Linked DNA regions of Homo sapiens: region 1 is linked to region 2. Evidence: promoter capture Hi-C in 16 types of primary human blood cells and fetal thymus (Javierre and others, 2016). All regions are on one chromosome and are shown on one strand. Each heading gives the region's core, a stretch centred on a gene start or on the middle of the fragment in contact. The rest is flanking DNA. Distances are from core to core; before and after follow the strand shown.

Region 1 (5,346 bases), core at 983-3,482, 240 kb after region 2:
GAGGCCAAGATGGGAGGATCGCTTGAAGCCAGGAGTTCAAGACTGGTCAACATAGTGAGACCCCAATCTCTATTTTAATTTAAAAAATAAAAAAATAAAATTATGTAGCTTATTATAATGTTAATATATTCTAAGTATAATGTTAATATAAATCTTCCAGAACAAATTAACAAGGGTGCAGCATACAAGATGAATATATGTAAAAAAACTGTGTTCCTCTATAGTAGTAGTGAACTAGCAGAGAAATTGAAATTTTTAAAATACCATTTGCAATAGTGTCAGAGAAAAAATGCCTAGGAAGACCCAAACACCGAAAAACACAAATACTACTGAGAAAAAAATTATAAATCCTAAATAAGTGGAGAGATATATTATGTTCATGGGTTGAAATGCTCAATATTGTGAAGACATCAATTATTCTGCAGATTCAACACAATGATAATCAAAATCTTAGTGAATTACTTTGGGGGTGTGGGGTGGTGCTGGTAGAAATTGACAACCTGATTCTAAACTTTATATGGAAATACGAAAGTCCTGTAACAGCTGTAAGTCAACAAGGTACAGCCACATCAAGACCAAATGTGGCTCACAGCCTATAACTGTATAGGTTGAATGGAATGTGAGAACTATTTTTATATTTTAAAAGGTCTGTAATAGAAAAAATAATATGCAACAGAAACTATATATAGCATGTAAAGCTTAAAATCTCTACAATCTGGTCTTTTATAAAAAACTTTGCCAACCTCTGACCTAAAATAGTAAAGACAACTCTGAAAAGAAAAAGCTGGAAGACTAAACTCTATCGGACTTCAAAAGTTATGAAGTTGTCAAGAGAGGGTAGTCTTGGAATAAAAGATAAGTAGCTATATGGAACAGAACAGTTGAGAAGCAGACACACGTATAAAGACAACCAATATTTCAAGAAAGAAGCAAAGGCAATTAAGTGGAGAAAGGATAGTCTTTTCAATAAATGATGCTAGAACAATGAGATACAAAGAAAAAAAAAACCCCAAATTTTGATCCAATCTTTGTGCCATATAAAGATTTTAACTCAAAGTGCACCATGTACTTGTACCACAAGTACAACATATTAAATATATTGTAATACAGATACTCCTCAACTTATGACAGGGCTATGTCCTGACAAACCTATTGTAAGTTGAAACTATCATAAGTTGACAATTTGTAACCCCATCATAAATTGAGAAACATATTGAATGCATAATATGTTTGCACCATTGTAAATTAAAAACAATACTAAGTCAAACTCCATAAATTGGGAAGTGTATTTATGTTACCTCTGTTAAAATGAAATGTTTTATTATATATTTAAATGTACATTATATTAAATATAAAGTATTAATATCAAATACACTAATAGGTTTAATATTAAATATATTACAAATTTTAAACTCTCAAAATTCAATAAATATTGCAAAACCACATGATCGTGCCACGCACTTCAGCCTGGGAGACAGAGTAAAACCCTGTCTCTATATAAAAAAAAATAAAAATAAATAAAAAATAAAGCCAATATAAACAGGCAAAAGATTTGAACAGACTCTTCCCCAAAGGCTTAAAGAAGGCCAGTAAGCACGTGAAACCATGTAAGACATCATTAGTCACTAGGGAAATGCAAATTAAAACCATGAGATACTACTACACACCTATTAAAATGGTCAAAATAAAAAAGACTGACCATACCAATAATTGGCAAGGATGCAGAAGAATTGCAACTCTTATATACTGCTCATGGAAATGTCAAATGGCATAACTACTTGAGAAAGGTTTAGCAGTCTCTTAAAAACTTAAACGTACACTAACATATGATCTGATCATTCCACTCTTAACTATTTAAAGAAACAGAAGCACATGTTTAAAGAATAATCTGCATATGGGTATTCAAGGCAGTTTTAATTGCAATAGCCAAAAGGTAGAAATAACACATGGATAAATAGCTTGTGGTATGCCTTGCAATGGAATACTATTCAGCAGTGAAATGGACCCTACAACATAAATGGATCTGAAAAAATTATCCTGAAAGATGCCAGACTATATGATTCCATTTATATAAAAACTGTACATAATATAAAGTCGTCTATTCTAAGAGAAAGCAAATCAGTGGATCAGGAGAGTGACAGGCAGGGAAGGGTGAGGAGAAGAAGAAATTATAAAAGGGCATGAGGAAACCATCTGGTTTGATAGGTATGTTCATTATCTTGATGGTGTGTATGTACACATATGTGTATGTGTCCAAACTTAAAGTGTATGCTAAAAACATGTGCAGTTTATTACATGGCAATTATATCTCAAACTTACTGAAAGAACCTGCCTCAATAATTCAAACCAAAGATTCTCAGCAACAGTGAAAAAAGATCATTAAATGTACACTTCACCAAAGACTCATAAGCATATGAAAGTGATGTTCAATATCATTAGTCTTTAAAGACATATAGAAAGGCAAACTTAAATAATTTATTTGGTTTTCTTTGCTGGCGTCAATTTTCTTTTTTTTTTGAGACAGGGTCTCATCCTGTTGCCCAGGCTAGAGTGTAGTGGCACGATCAGGGCTCACTGCAACCTCTGCCTCCCTGACCAGGCTCAAGCAATCCTCTTGCCCCAGCCTCCTAAATAGCTGGGACTATAGGCACAAACCAGTACACCCAGTTAATCTTATTTATTCTTTGTCAAGATGAGGTTTCACTATATTGCCCAGGCTGGTCTTGAACTCCTGGGCTCAAGTGATCCTTCTGCCTTGGCCTCCCAAATTGCTGGAATTAAGGTGTGAGCCAGCATGCCTGGCCAGTACCAATTTTCTTGTGTGCAATAAGTGAAAATTTGTACCCCTAAATGTTCCTCAATTCCCTATAACTAAGTTTTTCATTAAAAAACCCTCTGAGGATATTTTAATTTTTTTTTCTTTTTTTGAGATGGTCTTACCATATCATCCAGGCTGGAGTGCAGTGGCGTGATCTGAGCTCACTGCAGCTTCCGCCTCCCGGGTTCAAGCAATTCTGCCTCAACCTCTCGAGTAGCTGGGATTACAGGCACGTACCACCATGCCTGGCTAATTTTTGTATTTTTAGTAGAGATGGGGTTTCACCACGTTGGCCAGGCTGGTCTCGAACTCCTGACCTCAAATGATCCACTCGCTTCGGCCTTTCAAAGTGCTGGGATTACAGGAATGAGCCACTGCACCCAGCCTAAAATTGTTTTAAAGACTAGGGAAGTGTAGTAGTGACAAATGGGGGAAAGAGTGGAACTCCTCAATAATAAAGAGTTCCATCTGTAACCGTGAACAATTGAGATAACTCAGGATCTTCAGACCAGCTAGATATTTTTATTAATGATATATAACCTCTTTAAAACATGTATATTTACCAAAAGCATTCTGATATGGCATTCCTCTAGTGTGACTTTTTGCATGTAAATTAATACAGCCTTTTTGACCTTCCATACAGTCAGGTTCCTCTTCAGTGTGGATGTTTCCTAACGACCAAGTTCAAGGGCTTTCCAACATCTCTTTCACTCATGGGACTTCTCAATGTGTGCTTTGACATGTTCCCAAAGTGGAAGCTAAAAACAAAGAAGAATCTCCACACATTTTACATTCATAAGATTTTTCACACTTGTGAGATCACAGCTGAATATTAAGGTATAAGGCAGAGTGAAAGGTTTCAACACATTCCTTACAGCCAGAGGACGTGCATTTATATCCAATGTGCTCACAAGCTCAGTAAGGCCCGAGGAAAATAATGAAAGCTTTTCCACCTTCCTCACATTCATAGCATTTCTCTCCAGCATGAGTTCAAACAGACTCAGTAAGATGTAAGCATCGACAGGTTTCCTACGTTCAGTTTGTTTCCTAGGATGCACAGACACATGAATAGTAAGGCCTATGGAAGGAGCCAAGATTTTCCCACATTCCTTACATTCATATGTCTTCTCTTCTATTGGAATTGTTAAGATCTGAGACACCAAGGAAGGCTTCCCACATTCCTTATGACTGTGTACATTGCCACTATGAATGAGTACATGTTCAGTAAGTGTGAGGAAGTAGTGGCTTTACCACATTCTTTCCAAGTATCAGCCCCAATTCACACACATTCAGTAAGGCATGAGGAATTACTAAAGGTTTGCCCACATTCCTTATATGGTTTCTCCACACTATGACTTCTTAGATGTCGAATAAGATATGTGGACCGAGTAAAGGCTTTCCCACATTCCTGACATTCAAAGGGCCGTTCACCAGTGTGAGTTCTCATGTGTACTGTAAGGCCTGATGAGATACTGAAGGCTTGCCCACACTTTTGACATTTATATGGCCTCTCCCCTGTATGTATTCTTTTATGTTGACTAAGGTGCGAGGAGTATCTAAAGGCTTTCCCACATTCCTCACATTCAAAAGGCCTTTCTGCACTGTGACTTCTCAAATGTCGAATAAGAAATGAGGATCGAATGAAGGCTTTCCCACACTGTTGACAGTCATAGGGTTTTACACCAGGATGAGTCTGCATGTGACTTTTAAAGGAAGAGGAATTAATAAAGGCTTTTCCACATTCCTTACATTGATAAGGCTTCTCACCAGTGTGAGTTCTCATATGTACAGTAAGATGTGAAGAGTTAGCAAAAGCTTTCCCACATTCCTTACATTCATAAGGCTTTTCTCCAGTGTGAGTTCGCCTGTGTTTTATAAGACCTGATGAATCAGTGAAGGCTTTCCCACATTTGTTGCACTCATACGGTTTTTCTCCAGTGTGAACCCTTATGTGAATGTTGAGTTTTGAGAAACAAGTAAATTCTTTGCCACATTCATTACAAACATAGTGTTTTCCTCTAGTTCTAAGTCTTATATGTTTAGCAAGATCTGGGGAAAAAGCAAAGGCTTTGCCAAATTTCTTATGTTCTATAGGTAACACTCTACTATGAGTTCTTAAATGTTGAGTAAGATATGACGACTCAGTGAAGGGTTTCCCACATGCTTTACATTCATAGAATTTTTCTCCATCTTGAGTTTGCATGTGTACAAAAAGGGCTGTAGAATGAGAAAAGGTTTCGACATACTCCTTATGAGTATATGGTCTCTCTCCACCATAAATTCTTACACATTCTCTGAGGTGTGAGGAGGAAGGTAAGCCTTTTTCACAGTCACTGCATTTATATGGTTTCTCTTGAGTGTGAGTTTTCTTGCAAACAAGATGTAGATTTTGGCTAGTTTTCTTGCAAACAAGATGTAGATGTTGGCTGAAGGCTGTTTCACATTGATTACAGTTAGGAAGTTCCTCTCCGATATCAGTTTTCTTGTGTAAAGTAAAGATAGAGGGTTTTCTGAAGGCTTTTTCACAT
Region 2 (5,566 bases), core at 2,745-5,244:
CTCTATCCAATGAGTTGGCCAGCAATTCAGGGGTAAATTACCCATTTACAGAATGGCTAGAAAAGTGGTTCGGTAAATGGAAAGGAATAATAGCCTCAATTCTCACCTCCCTTGTAGCCGTAATGGGTGTACTTATCCTTGTCAGGTGCCGTGTCATACCATGCATCTGTAGGTTGGTGCAGAGGCTCATAGAAATGGCACTTACTAAAACCTCCTTTAACTATCCTCCACCTTATCCAGAGAAGCTCCTTCTTTTGGAAAATCAAGCAGAACAACTAAGTCAAGACATGTTAAATAAGTTTGAAGAGAAAGCCATAAAAAAAATGCAAGAGGAGGAAGTTGTTGAAAATGAATTATAAATTTCTCTTCAAAGAATTAATATGTCAGTATGCTCAATTCTTTGCCTTCTACTTTTAAACTTAACTTCCTCATAAAGCACCCTTTTCCCAAACCGCTCACTCCATCACTCTCTTTAAATTAGTCAATCGGAATTAGTTTAGCCTGTGAGGTCCAACCCTAGCCAGTAGGGGAACGACAGAGCAGTAGGGACCACGTGTGTCAGGAATAAGAACCCCTTTCCCTCCCTTGTCCAGGTGTGTGCCCACCATTGCTCCATCTGTGAGAGTGCACCCTTCTATAGAAGTATCTTGCCTTGCTGAGAATTAAAAAGAAAATTTTATATTCAAGTGTTATTTCTTTTGTGGCACCAAAACTTTATATGTGACAGACTGGAAGTTCAAGAGCAGCCTGGGCAACATAGAGAGATCTCTTCTCTACCCAAAATATTTTTAAAAATTAGCTGGATGTGGTGGTGTACATATGTATTCCCTGGTACTTGGGCAGGAGGATTACTTGAGCTCACAAAGTAAAGGCTGCACTGAGCAATGATAACGCTACTACACTCCAGCCTGTGTGACAGAGTGAAACCCTGTCAAAAAGAAAAAAAAAAAGTAGAATGTGATTTTAAACATCAGAACTAAACAGAATGATATGCTCAGAGAGGTTTCCCTATCCCTATCCTCTCCATTTTGTTCTTATCCCACCATTCTGTTCAAGCCCTTCCCATCTATCCCCGATAGATTCTGAATCTTATTATTTTCAGGATAGTCCTATCAGTGTTTCCCTGTACTCAGAATGAACAGATAATTACATATTTTATTTTTATTTTTTTGAGACTGAGTCTCACTCTATCGCCCAGGCTGGAGTGCAATGGCGCGATCTTGGCTCAATACAACCGCCGCTTCCCGGGTATAAGCAATTCTCCTGCCTCATCCTCCCGAGTAGCTGGGATTACAGGCGCCCGCCACCATGCCCGGCTAATTTTTGTATTTTTAGTAGAGGCGGAGTTTCACCATGTTGGCCAGACTTGTCCTTCAGAACTTTTTAACTGGAAGATATGCTGCCAGGCTGCTGAGCATCGTCACTTAGTCATATAAGCCCCCTCTTTGATTCCCCTTCTCCTCTGGGAGTCTTTCTTCCTTTCCACCCTTTCTGAGCAGCGACCCACAGGTAGAAGCCTGTGGATATTCTCTTGCTGTTTGCTACCTCCCGCCACTCCTTACCTGTCAAAGCACATCCCAAATGAAGCTTGTGTGCTACTGCCGCCTTGTGGTCACGTCTTTTTCCTTACTCAGCCAAGAAATCACTTACACCCTGAATGCGTATATGGTTTTATTTTTCACATTTAGATCCCTAGTCCATTTAGAGTTTATTCTTGTATATGCTGTGAAGTATGGATTTAATTTCATCTTTTCTCTGATGGCTACCCAGCTGTCTTAGACTTTCCATTACAAATGGCTTTTTTTGCCTCATTGATCTGAAATACCTTTTTTTTTTTTTTTTGAGATGGATTTTCACTCTTGTTGCCCAGGCTGGAGTCCAGTGGCGCGATCTCGGCTCACTGCAACCTCTGCCTTCTGGGTTTCAGCGATTCTCCTGCCTCAGCCTCCCGAATAGCTGGGATTACAGAAAGCCCACCACCATGCTTGGCTAATTTTATTTTTGTATTTTTATTAGAGACAGGGTTTCACCATGTTGGACAGGCTGGTTTCGAACTCCTGACTTCAGGTGATCCTCCCGCCTCAGCCTCCCAAATTGCTAGGATTACAGGTATGAGCCACCGCGCCTGGCAAAATACCACATTTATGAACCAAATTCCTACATGTTCTTGGGTCTGTTTTTAGATATTTTATTAGTCTGTTTCTGCTTCATGTGCTAGTACCACATAGTTTTAATTATAGAGGCTTTATAGTATGTCTTATTTATTTTTATTTTAATATAATTTAATTATTTGCCTTGTGTGAAAACTGTTAATAGTATGTTTTAACATCTGCTGCTCATCATTGCTTTTGTTTTTGTTTTCTTGGTTATTATCAGATATTTATTCTTCCACATAAACTTTAGTATCAACGTACCTAACTCCAGAAAAAACTTTTAATATTTTTACTGGGATTATGTTACATTTCTGAATAAACCTGGGGAGAATGTCTGGTGTCAGTGCTATTTTACAATGTAGGAAATGTGGTCCTGGCCCATGTGGGAAGATCAGAAAAATAACAATAGAAATACATGTTTTTGGCCAGGCGTGGTGGCTCACATCTGTAATCCCAGCACTTTGGAAAGGTGAGGCAGGCGGATCATGAGGTCAGGAGTTCGAGACCAACTGGGCCAATATGGTGAAACCCTGTCTTTACTAAAAATACAAAAATTAGCCGGGCATGGCGGCGCCTGCCTGTAATCTCTGCTACTCAGGAGGCTGAGAGAGAAGAATCGCTTGAACCCGGGAGGCAGAGGTTGCAGTGAGCAAGATCGTGCCACTGCACTCCAGCCTGGGCAACAGAGCTAGACTCCATCTCAAAACAAAAACAAAAACATATTTAAAATTTTTTTTAAACAGAGACGGGGTCTTGCTGTATTGCCCAGGCTGGTCTCAAACTCCTGGCCTCAAACGATCCCTTGGCCTCCCAAATTGCTGGGATTATAGGCATAAGCCACCATACCCAGCCAGAAATACATACTTGATGAAGACAAAAAAAAATCAAGATTTACAGAAAATATTATTATATTGAAAACGTGGCCGGGTGCGGTGGCTCATGTCTATAATTCCAGCACTTTGGGAAGCTGAGGGAGACAGATCATTGGAGGTCAGGAGTTCGAGATCAGTCTGGCCATCATGGTGAAACTCTTCTCTACTAAAAGTACAAAAATTAGCTGGGCGTGGAGGCAGACATCTGTAATCCCAGCTACTCGGGAGGTTGAGGCAGGAGAATCACTTGAACCCGGGGGGCAGAGGTTACAGTGAGCCGAGGTCATGCCACTGCACTCCAGCCTGGGCAACAGAGTGAGATCTGTCTCAAAAAAAAATAAAAAATGAAAAAGAAAAACGAAAAAAGAAAACGCAATGGAACCAGCAGGTTCTAAAAAATAAAGAATGAAGAAATAAAGGCCTACAGAAAGCCTGACTGAATAGAAGAGATAGACCATGCCATTCACTGGCAGCTTTATCCATATGGAAGAATCATGGAAAGGCTCTAGGAACATGAGATGTATACAAACAAGCTTTATATATATGTATACACACATATATATTTTAATAAAGGATGTTGCTATTTTGCCCACGCTGGTCTTGAACTCTTGGACTCAAGCTATCCACCTGCCTTAGCCTCCCAAAGTGTTGGACTTACAGGCCTTAGCCACTGTGCCCACCTGGGAAAAGCTCTGCAGGAGCATCCCCTGGGGTGCGTCCCATCCCCCACGCCCGCCCTTCCAGCAGGTCCGGCCACCTGAACCGCCGGCTAGCCGGGTCCCACCTCTAAACCGCCCCCAAGTAAGGGCCTGTCCGCGCCCACCCGGGAAGAAACTACAATTTCTGTGTTTGACTGGGTCCTATGTGGCTGAAACTCGAACCCAGGAGCCCCGCCCGGCCCGAGGCTCGGAGCGGAAGTGACGTCAGCGCACAATCGCCATCTTTTCCGGCGCTGGCTCCGCATGGTCAGTGCCATTTCGCCTTTATCGTGGTGGAGTCCACCCTGGCTGTGGTGAGTTCCGCCTGCTTGGGGATCCCGGAGATAGCGGGGGGCGGCAAAGGAACGATTGGGTGCTGTCGCCCAGGAGCCTCTCCGATCCGCCTCGTTTCACTCTCTTCTCCAGGGGCTGTCGGTCCTCCTTGCGCGGCCAGTGGCTAGAGGCCGCAGGCTCAGTGGGTCCCAGTCAGGAGCCAGGTCGGGAAGTGTGTTTGTCCCGACTCCGCGCGTTTTCTGGAGTGGTTTCATCCGCTGTGCTCCCTTCTTCAAAAGCTTGGAAAGCAACCTTTGTGAGTTTCTTTCTTTCTGAAAGTAAAAGGATTTCTGCCGTTCCAGTCAGGTTGGCTCCGGCCCCGCATTTCCGCGCCTCAGGAACCTGGCGTTTCCGGCATGTTCCTGGTGAACACCTGCAGAAAATTGGTTTCAAGAGGGCTCTGACTTCCATTTCTTTGCTTAAAAATGTCTCGTCTGAGAATCTGGCATTGATGTCCTATTCTTATTTTTGACACATTACTTTCTGATGGAAAAAAAATAGTCGTTTAGGGTGTGCCTATATCTGCATGTAAATATGAACACGTGTAGACTGTGAGCCTTTAGTTTCTTATTTTATTTTCTTGGACTTAATGTTTTTTGTTGTTACCAGCTACAAGCCTTTCTACAAAAGAAAGGCAGGCTGGGCGCGCTGGCTCACGCCTGTAGTCCCAGCCATTTGGGAGGTCGAGGCGGGCAGATCACCTGAGGTCAGGAGTTCGAGACCAGCCTGGCCAACATGGTGAAACCCTGTCTCTACTAAAAATACAAAAAATTAGCCAGGCGCGATGGCGGGCGCCTGTAGTCCCAGCTACTCGGGAGGCTGAGGCAGGAGAATGGCGTGAACCCGGGAGGCGGAGCTTGCAGTGAGCCGAGATCGCGCCACTGCACTCCAGCCTGGGCAAAAGAGGGAGACTCCGTCTCACACACACAAAAAAAAAAAAAAAAAAAAAAAAGCCAGGCTTGGTGGCAGTCCCCTGTAATCCTAGCTACTTGGGAGGCTGAGGCAGGAGGATTGCTTGAACCTGAGAGGCCGAGGTTGCAGTGAGCCGAGATCTGCCACTGCACTCCAGCCTGGGCGATGAGAGCGAAACTCCGTCTCAAAAAAGAAAGAAAGGCAATAATACACAGCTGTTGTCTTTATCTGAAGTTCCTAGGTCTGTACCCCCCCACAGAGCTTCAAAACGGGCCCACAGGAAGAAAGGATGGAGGCTTTTGTTTGTTTTTTTCAGACGGAGTCTTGCTCTGTCGCCCAGGCTGGAGTGCAGTGGCGCGATCTCAGCTCACTGCAACCTCCACCTCCTGGGTTCAAGTGATTCTCCTGCCTCAGCCTCCGAGTAGCAGGGACAACAGGCATGGGGACCATGCCCAGCTAATTTTTTTTTTTTGTATTTTTAGTGGAGACAGGGTTTCACCATGCTCGCCAGGCTGGTCTCGAACTCCTGACCTTGTAATCCGCCTGACGGCCTCCCAAAGAGCTGGGATTACAGGCGTGAGCCTCCGCTCCTGGCCAG

What was found. Contacts are between HindIII fragments. The CHiCAGO score rates a contact against its expected background, and 5 or more counts as called.
Region 1: a contact is called between a fragment that was not itself captured here and the fragment with the promoter of ZNF121 in region 2, in 1 of 17 cell types (total CD8 T cells). The highest score is 5.3, in total CD8 T cells.

Annotation. Positions count from the first base shown.
Region 1 is chr19:9,341,820-9,347,165 of GRCh38, reverse strand. It overlaps ZNF559 (zinc finger protein 559), which reads right to left. Exons shown (of 7, transcript NM_032497.3): 7 at 1,295-5,346. The coding sequence ends at 4,098. All of the region lies in intron 6 of ZNF559-ZNF177 (ZNF559-ZNF177 readthrough), which reads right to left. Among named protein-coding and RNA genes, the nearest start is that of ZNF177, 19 kb to the left of the region's middle. The HindIII fragment of the contact is 3,064 bases long and covers 701-3,764 here.
Region 2 is chr19:9,582,932-9,588,497 of GRCh38, reverse strand. It overlaps ZNF121 (zinc finger protein 121), which reads left to right and starts at 3,994. Exons shown (of 4, transcript NM_001008727.5): 1 at 3,994-4,037. RefSeq lists enhancers at 3,604-4,415, 5,230-5,566. The HindIII fragment of the contact is 737 bases long and covers 3,561-4,297 here.